4 separate regions of the Homo sapiens genome follow, and all the other regions are linked to region 4. Evidence: promoter capture Hi-C in 16 types of primary human blood cells and fetal thymus (Javierre and others, 2016). All regions are on one chromosome and are shown on one strand. Each heading gives the region's core, a stretch centred on a gene start or on the middle of the fragment in contact. The rest is flanking DNA. Distances are from core to core; before and after follow the strand shown.

Region 1 (3,346 bases), core at 729-3,228, 1.2 Mb after region 4:
GTGGCTGCTTCATCCTCACAGTTGCCCAGACCAGAGCCTCAGAGCCGTCCTGGACTCCTGCCCAATGTCCACCTGGCCCTGCTATCCCCTCTCCACCACACCTGACATCCAGTCAGTGGTCAGACTCCACAGCTGGGCCCTGCCCACATGGCCCAAGTCCACCCTGGCCTGGCAAGCTGCAATGGCACCCAGGAGATGATGCCCTACACCCCAGGGAGCCTTCCTGGGAGTCGGCCAGTCACCTTCTGTGTGCCTGGCTGTGGCCTGCTGCTCTGCCCTCGCCATGCACCTGCTCCATGATGAAAGCTCATGCAGTGCCTCATGAGGGAGATGGCAGCCAGTACTTGCTAAGTAGATAGATGAGCCAGACGTGTGGCTGTCTGCCAGCCTGCTCTAACAGCCTGACCCATGGACTGGGTCACTAAGAAACAGAAATTTCCCACAGGACAGTAGACCTGTATTTCATCCAGTTCAACCTGTGGCTGGAATTGCCCCAAAAGTGGTGGCAGTAGAGTTCCCACAAGGGAGTGCCCCACACCATCCTGAGATGGGGCTGGTTAGGATTCTACAGATTGAGCATGCCAGGGTGATTCGCCCAGAGCATTTATTCGTGGGGCTTTTGTACAGAGTGGGCTGCAGCAGTTCTTGCAATAGGCAGTGAGAGAAATGAAGTTCTCTCTAGGTATGTCCGTGGGGGAGGGGGTTGGTGAATGGAATTTATATGAGGGTTTGAGGAATCTGGCTCAGGCTGAGTCCAGTTTCTTTCTGTGTTTTGAGCAACAACCTAGTTACTGTCATCTGTGCCTGGGAACGTTCATGGCTATGGCTCGGGTTCAAGTCTGCAGAGGAAATTATACAGTTGGCGAAGTCACAGAGTGGCCAAGGGACTCTGTTTCTCAGTCAGCACTGGGAATGAAAGTGGAAAGGGGAAGCAGGGGTACGTCACAACCTCCAAAATCAGGGTGCCCAGCACGCTGAGGTTCTGGTAAGGGGTTTCTTCCAGACTGCAGACTTCCTTCCCGCTGCCTTCACACAGTAGAAAGCTGCACAAAGCTCTTGGGGTCCCTTTTATGAAGGCTCTGTCCTCATGACCTAGTCACCTCCGAAGCACCAACGCCTTGGGGTGAGGATTTCACATGGGAGTTAGGGTGCACATTCAGTTTAACACGGCAGGGATAGGACCAGTGCTCTGAGGGTGTCTGGGTAGCTGCTGGTTCATCCAGAAGTTTACTGGGTAATACTCAGAAATTCCACAAATCATTAAGGTCATTACCTTGTTAAGCTCCCGATATGGAATCGCGACTAGCAGTGACCAATTGGCGGTGTTAACTAGGCGCATCTTGTGTGTTTTCTTTTTTCTTTTTTTATGAGACAGGGTCCGCTCACTCGTTCAGGTTGGAGTGCAGTGGCGCGAAGTCCTGGGTTCGAGATCCTCCCGCCTCAGCCTCAAAGCGTTGGGGCTACAGGGGCGCGCGCGCGCCTGGCCCATTTTAACTTCTTATTTTTGAGACAGTCTCGCTCTGTCGCCCAGGCGGGAGTGCAGTGGCGCGATCTCGGCTCACTGCAACCTCTGCCTCCCGGCTCAAGTGATTCTCCTGCTTCAGCCTCCTGAGTAGCTGGAATTACAGGTGTGCACCACCACACCCGGCTAATTTTTGTATTTGAGTAGAGACCGGGTTTCACCATGTTGGACAGGCTAGTCTCGAACTCCCGACCTCAAGCGATCCGCCCGCCTCGGCCTCCCAACTTGCTGGGATTACAGGCGAGAGCCACTCCGCCCGGCCCCGTTTTAACCATTTTTAAACTTCCAGTTCAGAGGCGTTCCCGCGCCCGGCAGGGTAGGCGCAGTGCGCAGGCGCCCAAAGCCGACGTGGAGGTGATGCGCGGGAGCACAGATCCGGGGCAGTGCGCTGCGCAGAGGCGCGCGGCGAAGCCGAGTGGGCGCGGGAGTGACGTCACGGCGCGCGACGCGGAGGCGGGGTCGGGCCTGGGTCCGACGGTAGTGGGTAGCGGGTCTCGGGTTGCGGGTTGCAGGTTGCAAGCCGCAGGCCCCAGGCAACTGCCTTCCCGGCGCCATGTTCGGCTCCAGTCGTGGAGGCGTGCGCGGCGGGCAGGACCAGTTCAACTGGGAGGACGTGAAGACTGACAAGCAGCGGGAGAACTACCTGGGTGGGTGCGCGCGGTGGGCGGGCTCCGGGCTCCGGGCTCCGGGATCCCGGGCGGGCGCTGGACTCACAGCGTCTACGTCCGCAGGCAACTCGCTGATGGCGCCGGTAGGCCGCTGGCAGAAGGGCCGCGACCTCACCTGGTACGCCAAGGGCCGGGCGCCATGCGCGGGCCCGAGCCGCGAGGAGGAACTGGCAGCCGTGCGGGAGGCGGAGCGCGAGGCGCTGCTGGCCGCCCTGTGAGTGTCCGCGGACGGCAGCGGTCGGTGCCTGGGACGGCGCTGCCGGGGCAGGGTGGGGCCGGGGCCGGGGACTGGGGGTCGGGCTGGGCGGGAGCGGGGCTGCGGGGACTCGCGCGGGCGGGACCCTGAGGACGAAGGCTGGAGTGGTGAGGACCTGTGGTGGGAGGAGGTCCGTCCGTCCTGACGCCTGCCCCGGCCCTCTCGCAGTGGCTACAAGAACGTGAAGAAGCAGCCCACGGGCCTGAGCAAGGAGGTAACTCCCCGGGGTGGGGGGCGCGTGGAGGGCCGTGGGTGTGGGGCCGACTCGAGCGCTCCCTGTGCTCTCGCACCTGCAGGACTTCGCGGAGGTCTGCAAGCGGGAAGGAGGCGACCCCGAGGAGAAGGGCGTGGACCGGCTGCTGGGGCTGGGGAGCGCAAGGTGCGGGCGGGTTTCCAGGGGAGGGCAGCACTGGGCTCGATTGCTCGGGTGAGGCGGACCCCTGCCGTACTGTCTTCATCGCCATGTCCCTGCAGTGGCTCCGTGGGCCGCGTGGCGATGTCCCGAGAGGACAAGGAGGCCGCCAAACTGGGGCTGTCTGTGTTCACGGTAATCCCCCGCCCCGCCTGACCGCAGCAGGGGCTAACAGGGGTGGGGCGGGGCGGGGGCACTGAACGGAGCTCCCCGGGGCGCTGCGGGGCGTGGTGTGGGGCCGGCCCGCAGACTCCTCCGCAGAGCTCGCTTCTCCCGCAGCATCACCGCGTAGAGAGCGGCGGGCCCGGGACCTCGGCAGCCTCGGCCAGGAGGAAGCCGCGGGCGGAGGATCAGACGGAAAGCAGGTGAGGCTGTGCCACCTGGGCTAGCTGTGCCCCGGGGTGGGGGGTCTCGGGAGGACCGGAGCGGCTCCCACTCGGGCAGGTGGCAGCTTCTCTTGGCGCACCGGCCCGGCGGGTGGCCTGCCC
Region 2 (3,145 bases), core at 593-3,092, 1.2 Mb after region 4:
TGAACACACCAAGCCAAGAGTGAGCCCTCATGGAAACTGTACTCCAAGTGATGATGGCATGTCAACAGAGGTTCATCAGTTGTGACGAAAATAGCACTCTGGTGGGGGAAGTTGTGAGGTAATATGGGAAATCTCTGCACATTCTGCTCTTTTGCTGAGAACCTAAAACTGCTCTAAAAAGCAACTCCTATTAAAAGACAACAACCAAATAACTATAGTTTCATCTGAAAGAAGGTGCTACATTCAGGAAACAAGAATAGGGTGCTTTAAGGAAGCGATGGCTCAGGATGATATATTAAGTATCAAAGTTGAAATAAAAAATCCTACAGTCAGGAAAAAACCATAAAGGAATGATGGGCAGGGAATGACCAGAGAAGCAGGAACACACAGAGGCTTCCAGGGAGAGGTGGTCCCTGACCTGCAGGCTGCCCTCTCCCCAGAGGAGTGACCAGAGGGGGCAAACCACAGAGAGGGAGGTCAACAGCCAACAGCAGCCCGACAAGGAAAAGAGTTTACACTCTCATGAACTGAACTAAACGTGCCCAACGAGCGCAGCCCTAAGCCCACCCATGCCACATAGCTGGGAGGGGTGGCATCTGGACACCTGTCACCCACCACCCCTGGGGAGACACTCAAGGAGGTAACCTTGTTGTGTCCCTCTTCTGACGGCTGAGGAGAAACAGGGCCATGAACTCCAACAGAACTGAAGCTAGAGGGTTTCAAGTATTATTACACAGATGCTGAATCCCACGGAGGATGGTCCCGCCCCACCTGACCCCTCAGAGTGGAGCTCCCTGGCCTGTGACGTTGTGTCACATCTCAGAAGGGAGACCAGAGTTGGATGACGTCACCCTTCAGTGCTGAGCTGGGGAAGAACAGAGCCGCCTCCAATGCCCTCAGCACTCAGAACAGTGGCGGACACACCAGACACCCAGCACAAGTGAAGAAAATTAACTCCTCCTGCAGACCTCGAGGACAGAGACCCCCACAATGAGAGCAAATAGAAAGACACAGAGGAGCCACCAAGCATATGCTTGGTAAGGGGAGCTGGGGCCCAGTAGGTCTGCAGACAAGCTCCAGACCAGGCAAGAAAGGATGAAGAGGAAAAAGCCCTGAGACACAGAAAGGACAGACAGCTGACCCTTGAATGATGCAAGGGCTAGGGACACTGGCCCCCACACAGTTGAAAACCCACCTTTAAGCTTTGACTCCCCAAAAGCTTAACTACTAACAGACTCCTGTTGACTGGAAGCCTTATGCATAACATACGCAGTCAAGTGGCACATATTTTTTATGTTTTATGCTATTATATACTGTATTACAATACGGTAAGCTACAAATCCCAGGAAGAAAATCCTAAGGAAGAGGAAATGTAGTTCCACTTCACTGAATGGAAATGGATCAACATAAACATCTTCATCCTCATGGTCTCCATGTTGAGTAGGCTGAGGAGGAGGAAGGAGAAGAAGGGTTGGTCTTGCCGTCTCAGGGTGGCAGAGGTGAAGGAAAATCCACGCATAAGTGACCTATGTAGTGCAAAGTCAGCTGTACTTTACACCACAAAACACTTATTAAGAATAGGAATTCAATTGAACTAGGACTCAAAGGGAAAAGGACAAGAGAGGACTATAGAAATATGGAAGGGAATTTGGGGACCAAAATCAACATCATTGTAAGGCTAACATGTGAACAGCAAAGTACTAACATAGAAGGCTCCAGAGAATCAAAGAATGTAGTTCTTAAGATGAAGAAATTAAAGCAGCTAGACAGAATGTAATGAATACATAAGACAGACTATGATGACTATATCTCTGAACTGGGACATGAAGATTTAAGCCTATTGAGCTAGGGTGGGCACACTTTTTCTGTAAAGGGCCAGTGAATAACTTAGGCTTGAGGGCCACACTCGTGCCACAACTCTACCACTCCAGACAAAAGCAGCCCCAGGCCGGGCACAGTGGCTCACACCTGTAATCCCTGCACTTTGGGAGGCCGAGGCGGGTGGATCACCTGAGGTCAGGAGTGTGAAAACAGCCTGGCCAATATGGTGAAACCCTGTCTCTACTAAAAATACAAAAATTAGCCGGGCATGGTGGCAGGCACCTGTAGTCCCAGCTATTTGGGAGGCTGAGGCGGGAGAATCTCTTGAACCCTGGAGGCAGAGGTTGCAATGAGCCAAGATTGTGCCATTGCACTCCAGCCTGGGCAACAAGAGCAAAACTCCGTCTCAAAAAAAAAAAAAAAAAAGAAGCCCCAGACCACCTGGAATCCAACGGGTGGGGTTCCCAGAGAATTTTATTATAAACACCGGCAATGGGCTGGGTCTGACCTCAGGGCCGTATTTCACCAACTCTGGTTCTAGATTTAAAGAGCCCACTAAGTGCCCAGAGATGTGATATGGAAAAAGCCCAAACTAAGACACATCAGCATGACATTTCACGACATCAAGAATAAAGAAAAGCTTCTGAGAAAAACACAGTTCACATACAAATAAGAACGGCACCAGACTTCTCAGAAAAGCTGGCAGCGAGAAAACAAAGTTGTGATGTGAACATTGTCGGTGACAATTTCCAAGCTAGATTTTTACACCCAGCCAGGATATCAGGTAAAGCCACTAGCAGAGACACAATGAGTCCAAAAATTCACCCCACGTAGCTCAGGAAGTCATTAAAAAGGTGTCCATCCCCTGAAACCAAAACACAGGAGTAAGCTGAAGAGAACAAGAACCGGGTCCGCCATAGCAGGGACAGCAGGCAGGCGGCCGCGAACCAGATCCACTCCACCGGGCGGAGGTTTCAGGGATCCAGGTCCCTGGAAGCTGGGCAAGGGAAACCCAAGGCTGTAAGCAGTCAAGGCCCTGACCCGGCATGAACATCACTGACAGTCGTGATGTCAGCACAGATGACTGAGCCAAATGCCAATGTGACCAGCTATGGGGAGACACAGGGAAACACAAGGTAAACAGAACTCGGGAGTGTCACCACAAGCTGTCACTCAGAAACACAGCTCTGCCACCAGGCGGGGCCCCTGAACCCCTTGTCCCTGCGGAGGGAGAAGGGTCACCAGATGGCCCACTTGGGAGGTGCCCACCTAGAGACGCCTCTGCTCTGATATGGTGGGCTGGCCCCCAGGCCTCCCCTGGATG
Region 3 (3,276 bases), core at 465-2,964, 1.2 Mb after region 4:
GGAGCCTTTGCCCTGACCAGAACACATGCGCCAAAGGTGTCTTCCTGTGGGCAGAGGGAAGCATTCCAGCAAACATTCTGTGCTCTCCACTCTCACCAACCCACAGTCGCAAACTCCAATCAGCTGCCTGGCAAGAAGCCACACAACCCACAACTGTAAGGACCTGCCAGGCACGTGGTCTCCACAGGAGCTCCGAGATGGAAGGTCTCCTGGGAGCCGCCGGCGCAGATCCATGTTCCGGAATGGTCTCTGCCAGAACGCTCCCTGGACTGGGCTCCCATGCTGCCCCAGCAGCCGCTTTCCTGGAAAGGCACTCCCTGCTGTGGCGGCATAATCTCCTCCTTCTGGCTTCCAGCCATCCTAAGGACTGAACAGAGTCACCACCTTGCCCCCGGCCCACTGTTCGAGGAGATGCTAACAGAGGGCTTGACCTTCTGAGAACCGAGAGAATTCAGCCCCCGCCTGGCCTCTCGTAAGACACAAACCACCAGACGTGGGCCTGGGCTCTGGGCTGGGCCAGGTGGATGAAGGGGAGGCTGGTGGTCCAGGCGGCTGCTCTTGGCTGCAGGGTTTCTGGGCACACATCCGGGTAGCACGCATCCTGGCCTTCAGCAACCTCGTTTTAAATGGGACCACACCAGGAGCAGCCAGGGCGCTTTCATTTTCACTTTCTTTCCCCGGGGGGGACAGGAACATTCCTTTACCTCCTGAGGAAATCGGGCTCTTCCAGAGCCACAGAGGAGTGAAGGCCCCAGCCCTTCACGATGCTGCGCGGCTATGTTTGGGTCTGTCCATCAGGGAGAAAGAAAAACCGGCCGAGTCTTGCACAGGGTCCTCGACAGCAACCCCAGGTAAAGAGCAGAGCAAGCCTGAGACAGGAAGGGGCCATGAGCCCAAAGACAGCAGAGCAGGACCCAGCCCGGGGCCTCAGGACCGACCTCTTTCATGCAAAGACGAAACCGAGGCCCACCACACGCAGGGTCAAAATCAACTTTGAGGCACCTGCTTCCCACACCAGTCCTTACTGGGGCATACTTCTAAGGCGACGCTCAAGAATGGCAGCAGGGCAGCTTCAAGAACCCCAACCCGGACTCTGGCTTTGGAGAATCCGAACCCCAAATGCCACACCCATGCGTCGGGAAGGCCTGCTGTTTCCCCAAGTCCCCGTCTCTGCGCCGTGCCGCGGAGTAGGCAGAATCCTGGGAGCCCCGGAATAGCCGGCTCCATCCGCCCAGGACCCCAAGGCTTGCAGGGTGAGGTGGGAACCGGAGCGCACACCGCGCCGGGCCAGCGGTAGGGACTCCCAGCTGCTCTCTTTGGCGGCGCGCCCAGGTGTCGGGAAGACACCGAGCGCTCCTATACGCCCGGGGAGCAGCTCGACACTGCGATAACTGCCGGCCTGCCCAGCTCCTGAGGAGCGCCCCGCCCTCCGGGACCCGGGCTCCGCTGCGTTGCCAGCCCGTCCGCCCTCCAGAGCTCCCCCGTTCTCAGGGCCCACAGTTGAATGCGGCACAGGGCGTCTCGGCTAGGAGGAGATCCGGAGGCGGCGTGGACTGGGCGACCGCAAAGCGCAGGGACCGCTGCCGCCTCGACCCGAGTCACCCTCGCGATCGCGCTTGTCGTACTCACCGTCCGGTGGGGCCCGGCCCAGGGCGGCCGCAGCCAGCCCGGCCAGCGGGCGCCGCAGCATCCGGGGCCACCTCTTCCGCCCACTGAACCTACGTGACAGCGCCGCACCGGCCCACCTCCGCCCGCGCGCGAGACTGACGTCATGAGGCGACTGCCCCGCCCATGTCTCACTCGTTCTTCCCCGCCCCTTAGGGAAGTACTTACCTCAGTGCCTCGCTAGCCCCGCCTCCACCTGCGCTGGCCTGTCGCGACCGCAGGGGCGTTCAGCACAGCGCCCTCCCAGCCCGTCTTCTCCCGCTGCGTCACAGCGCCACGCCGGCCCGCCTCCACACAGCGCGAACTAACATCACGACCCGCCGGCCCCGCCCACGGCGTACTTGTCCCGCTTGTCACTCAGAGAAGTACCTCAGTGCAGCGCGGGCCCGGCTTTCATCTGCTACGTCACAGCGCTGCCTCAGCCCGCCTCCTCCCGCTTATGTCACAGCGCCGTTTCCGTCCTCCATCTACACTGCAGGGACCTAACTAACGAACGACTCCGCTAGCCCGTTCCAAACCGGCCACTCTCCAAAAACCATTAATTGGGGAATGTGGCCGGGCGCGTGGTTCACGTCTGTGATCCCAGCTCTTTGGGAGTCCGAGCCGGGAGGACCGCTTGAGGCCAGGAATTGGAGACCAGCCTGGGGATCATAGGGAAACCCCTTCTGTACCAAAAAATTTAAAAACTTTTTTGTGCCTGTAGTCCTTGCTACTCGGGAGGCTGACGTGGGACGGTCGCTTGAGCCTGGGCAGTCGAGGCTGCAGTGAGCGGTGTTCGTGTCACTGCACTCCAGTCTGTGTGACAGAGCGAGACCCTATTTCTTTCTTTTTTTATTTTTTGAGACGGAGTTTCGCTCTTGTCACCCAGGCTGGAGTTCAGTGACGCCATCTCTGCTCACTGCAACCTGGGCCTCCTAGGTTCAAGCGATTCTCCTGCCTCAGCCTCCCGAGTAGCTGGGATTACAGGCGCCCGCCACCACGCCCAGCTAATTTTTGTATTTTTAGTAGAGACAGGGTTTCACCATGTTGGCCAGGCTGGTCTTGAACTCCTAACCTCAGGTAATCCACCAACCTTGGCCTCCCAAAGTGCTGGGATTACAGGCGTGAGCCACTGCACCTGGCCACGGGACTCTATTTCTAAAAATTATTTTAAATTTTTAAAAAAGATTTATTGAAGGCTGGGTGCAGTGGCTCACACCTGTAATGCCAGCACTTTGGGAGTCCGAGGCAGGCAGATCACCTGAGGCCAGGAGTTTGGGACTAGCCTGGCCAAAATGGTGAAACTCTGTCTCTACTAAAAATACAAAATCAGCTGGGTGTGGTCGTGGGCCCCTGTAATTCCAGCTACTGGGGTGGCTGAGGCAGGAGGATCACTTGAACCTGGGAGGTGGAGGTTGCAGTGAGCCGAGATCAAGCCACGGCACTCCAGCCTAGACGACAGAATGAGACTCCGTCTCAAAAAAAAAAAAAAAAAGTATTGAATGTGAACTGCAGGAGAGCAAGAAAAAAAGTAAAACTTTAAAAAATACAACTTCAAAAAAATGTGTTGGGGCTGGGCACCATGGCTCATGCCTGCAGTCCCAGCACTTTTGGAGGCCAAGGCGGATGGAT
Region 4 (3,099 bases), core at 46-2,545:
CTATGATGAGGTGGGCGGTGGTGGTGGGAGGCAGGATGCGGACACGTAGAAAGTAGGTGAATTCGTGGGAATCCTGACGTGGAAGCCGTGAGCGCTACTCACGGCCTGGGCTTGCTTTTTAACTGCTATATATATATTTAGATTTTCCAAAAGTTTTTTCCTTTCAAATCTTTTTGCAGCTACTGTATCAAGGCTCTTTTTTTAAGAAAGGGAAAATAGTGCAGGACCACTTCTGAAACTGTAACAAATGGGGCAACGTTGTATTCTTCTGTACAATGTAACTGGATCTGTGAAGGTTTTTATTTTTTATTTTTTATTTTTTTTGAGACGGAGTCTTGCTCTGTCGCCCAGGCTGGAGTGCAGTGGCGCAATCTAGGCTCACTGCAAGCTCCGCCTCCCGGGTTCACGCCATTCTCCTGCCTCAGGCTCCCGAGTAGCTGGGACTACAGCCGTTCACCACCACGCCGGGCTAATTCTTTTTATTTTTATTTTTTTAGTAGAGATGGGGTTTCACTGTGTTAGCCAGGATGGTCTCGATCTCCTGACCTCGTGAGCCACCCGCCTCGGCCTCCCAAAATGCTGGGATTACAGGCGTGAGCCACAGCGCTCAGCCGGATCTGTGGAGGTTTTATGAGCAAAAAGGGAAAACAGTGCGGGGCCACTTTTGAAACTGTAACAAATGGGGCAACGTTGTATACTTCTGCACAAAGTAACTGGATCTGTGAAGGTTTTATGTGTAAAAAGGGAAAAGAGTGTGGGGCCACTTTTGAAACTGTAACAAATGGGACAACTTTGTATACTTCTGCACAACGTAAGTTAATCTGTCAAGCTTTTATGTGCAAACGAATCTCTGAGCGAGTGAAATGGTTTTGATCAAAATCTAAAAGAATTTGGGGAGTGTAGATATAAAAGGGAGTTAAAGCCAGAGTAACAGGTGTTGTGAACACAGAGAGGAAGAACCGGTAGGTTTCGAGTGAGGACAGAGAGTGTCGCCCCCGGCCGCAGCCTGGGGGGGCTGCATATCTGGAGGGATCATCTCTTGCCCCTAACTGACGACTCCTGCAGAGTGACGCGTGCCTGGGACAGCGTCTGCTGGGACCAGGGTGGACGGGCACCTCAAATAAGTGGGCCAGGGACCTGGGCCTGGGCCCCTCGGACTGGCAGGCACGCCCGCACCCCCGCGCCTCGCGCTCTCTACGGAAGCAGCCGCCCCCACGGAGCGGGCGGAGGCCCGGGGGCCGGGAGCGCGCGTGGAGGCTCCGGGACTGAGGCGGCGCCACCGCCTCCCGCCTGCAGCTGGAGCGCGGGCCGCCGCGGCGACATCTTGCTCAGGAGGAAAGCGCGCGGGAGAGCGAGCTGCGCTTTAGCTGCTGCGCCACGCGCGCCTCGGGCCTGGGCGCAGAGGATCGGCCGGGCGCGGCGGGAAGGAGGTAAGGCAGCCCCGCGGGACCGCACGCCTAGCTCAGGGGACGCCTCCGGAGACCCCAGGACCACCCGATCACGGGCCCCGCCGCTCCCCTCCCTCGCTCCTCCTCCCGCTCAGCCCCAGTCTCCTGCGGTCCCCTCGCCCCAGCCCGCAGCCTCCCTGCCTTCCGCCCACTGAGCAGCCCTCCTCGGCGGCGCGCCCCTCGACCCCAGCAGCCCCGGTCCCCGCCTCTGCTCTTGGTCCCGGCCGCCGGGTGAGGCCGCCCCCGCCCCGCCCCCTCCCCGCCCTCGCCGGGACCCGCCCCCTGCTCCCGTCCGGGCGGGGCTCCGGGTTTAAACGTCGCGGCGGGCAGGGCCGGCGGAGGGGCGGGGCGGCCTCTGTGTCGTGTACCGGGTCCCGTAGGCTGCGGGCAGCGAGGAGCGGCTGGCGCTCGAGGCGGCGGACGGCACCATGTCCCCGGGGAGCGGGGTGAAGAGCGAGTACATGAAGCGCTACCAGGAGCCGCGCTGGGAGGAGTACGGGCCGTGCTACCGCGAGCTGCTGCACTACCGCCTAGGCCGCCGGCTGCTGGAGCAGGCGCACGCGCCCTGGCTCTGGGACGACTGGGGCCCGGCCGGCTCCTCGGAGGACTCGGCGTCGTCAGAGTCGTCGGGCGCCGGGGGCCCCGCACCCCGGTGCGCCCCGCCCTCGCCCCCGCCGCCCGTAGAGCCGGCGACCCAGGAGGAGGCGGAACGGCGGGCGCGCGGGGCCCCGGAGGAGCAGGACGCGGAGGCCGGGGACGCGGAGGCCGAGGACGCGGAGGACGCGGCTCTGCCAGGTACCCGGCCCGGAGGGGAGCGCGAGGGGCCTGCACGCAGGGACGGTTTGCTCTAAGCTCTGAGCAGCTGATCTCTTATTTCTTGCGCCACTCGGGGCTGGCTCTTCCTTTTTTTTTTTTCGGTTGACAGAATCCGTCTCTCTTGACAAAATAGGGAAGGTGGCAGCCTTTGCCACCCTTTATTTCCTTAATTAGGTGGCTTTCGGTCGAGCCAGCGGTGAACTCAATTGAAGCGCCGCTGGCTGAGTCTGGGGTCTTTCCTCGCGGGCCTCTGCGGCTTGGCAAACCTCTGAATCCCATCTTATTTCTTGGCGAACCACTGAGTCCCATCTGCTTATTTCTAGGCGCCCATTTTTGATCAGAGGAGCCCCAGCTTTAATCAGATTCTCAAAGGTAACCCAAAAGGTTAAGAACCACAGAGCTAAGCTTTGTCTGATGAATGGGGCCATTGTTTTCCGTATTAACTCCCCGACCTCGCTACGCTGTCCCTAAAGAATATTTTGCATTTGTTTACGTGGAGTGTTGAATAACTTGGCTGTGAGAGCATCTTTATAAGTGCTAGGGCCTCTCCCCTTCCGTCCCTCCCCATCCTCCCTCGCCTGTCCAGATCCGAAAGCGCCGGTGGCGCTGCGCGTGTTTTCAAGGCATGGCCCCTTCACCTTCTTTCCTGCCCAGAGGCTTGCAGGGCTGGGGACCCAGTTGAACGCCTCAGTACAGCCTGGAGTAACCAATGGTTCCTTCCAGATCACTGGATTTTAAAAAGGCTCGAGTGAGGAAAACATGGAAAATGTATTGGGAGCCTGTTAGACATTCAGTCACTGATCTGGGAATATGTATGTTGTCATTTAATATTCAA

Evidence for each region. Contacts are between HindIII fragments. The CHiCAGO score rates a contact against its expected background, and 5 or more counts as called.
Region 1: the fragment with the promoter of C1orf35 here is called in contact with the fragment with the promoter of CCSAP in region 4 in 10 of 17 cell types (neutrophils, total B cells, fetal thymus and 7 more); the score reaches 16.9 in neutrophils.
Region 2: a fragment that was not itself captured here is called in contact with the fragment with the promoter of CCSAP in region 4 in 2 of 17 cell types (non-activated CD4 T cells and naive CD8 T cells); the score reaches 5.4 in non-activated CD4 T cells.
Region 3: the fragment with the promoter of GUK1 here is called in contact with the fragment with the promoter of CCSAP in region 4 in 10 of 17 cell types (total B cells, neutrophils, fetal thymus and 7 more); the score reaches 13.1 in total B cells.

The regions. Positions count from the first base shown.
Region 1 is chr1:228,101,957-228,105,302 of GRCh38, reverse strand. C1orf35 (chromosome 1 open reading frame 35) reads left to right here and starts at 1,978. Exons shown (of 8, transcript NM_024319.4): 1 at 1,978-2,169; 2 at 2,254-2,404; 3 at 2,615-2,660; 4 at 2,743-2,825; 5 at 2,921-2,993; 6 at 3,138-3,223. The coding sequence starts at 2,076. RefSeq lists enhancers at 1,051-1,770, 1,771-2,491, 2,492-3,211, 3,212-3,346 and silencers at 2,214-2,483, 2,644-2,813, 3,064-3,143. The HindIII fragment of the contact is 8,620 bases long and covers 1-3,346 here.
Region 2 is chr1:228,166,458-228,169,602 of GRCh38, reverse strand. The region is part of intron 1 of IBA57 (iron-sulfur cluster assembly factor IBA57); the gene reads right to left. Among named protein-coding and RNA genes, the nearest start is that of IBA57, 2.2 kb to the right of the region's middle. The HindIII fragment of the contact is 1,242 bases long and covers 1,222-2,463 here.
Region 3 is chr1:228,138,717-228,141,992 of GRCh38, reverse strand. It overlaps GUK1 (guanylate kinase 1), which reads right to left and starts at 1,714. Exons shown (of 8, transcript NM_001159390.2): 1 at 1,630-1,714. The coding sequence starts at 1,690. RefSeq lists a silencer at 1,128-1,687 and enhancers at 1,698-1,927, 2,038-2,087. The HindIII fragment of the contact is 28,593 bases long and covers 1-3,276 here.
Region 4 is chr1:229,341,243-229,344,341 of GRCh38, reverse strand. CCSAP (centriole, cilia and spindle associated protein) reads left to right here and starts at 1,295. Exons shown (of 4, transcript NM_145257.5): 1 at 1,295-1,430; 2 at 1,829-2,243. The coding sequence starts at 1,877. RefSeq lists silencers at 1-140, 987-1,846, 2,047-2,246. The HindIII fragment of the contact is 1,840 bases long and covers 832-2,671 here.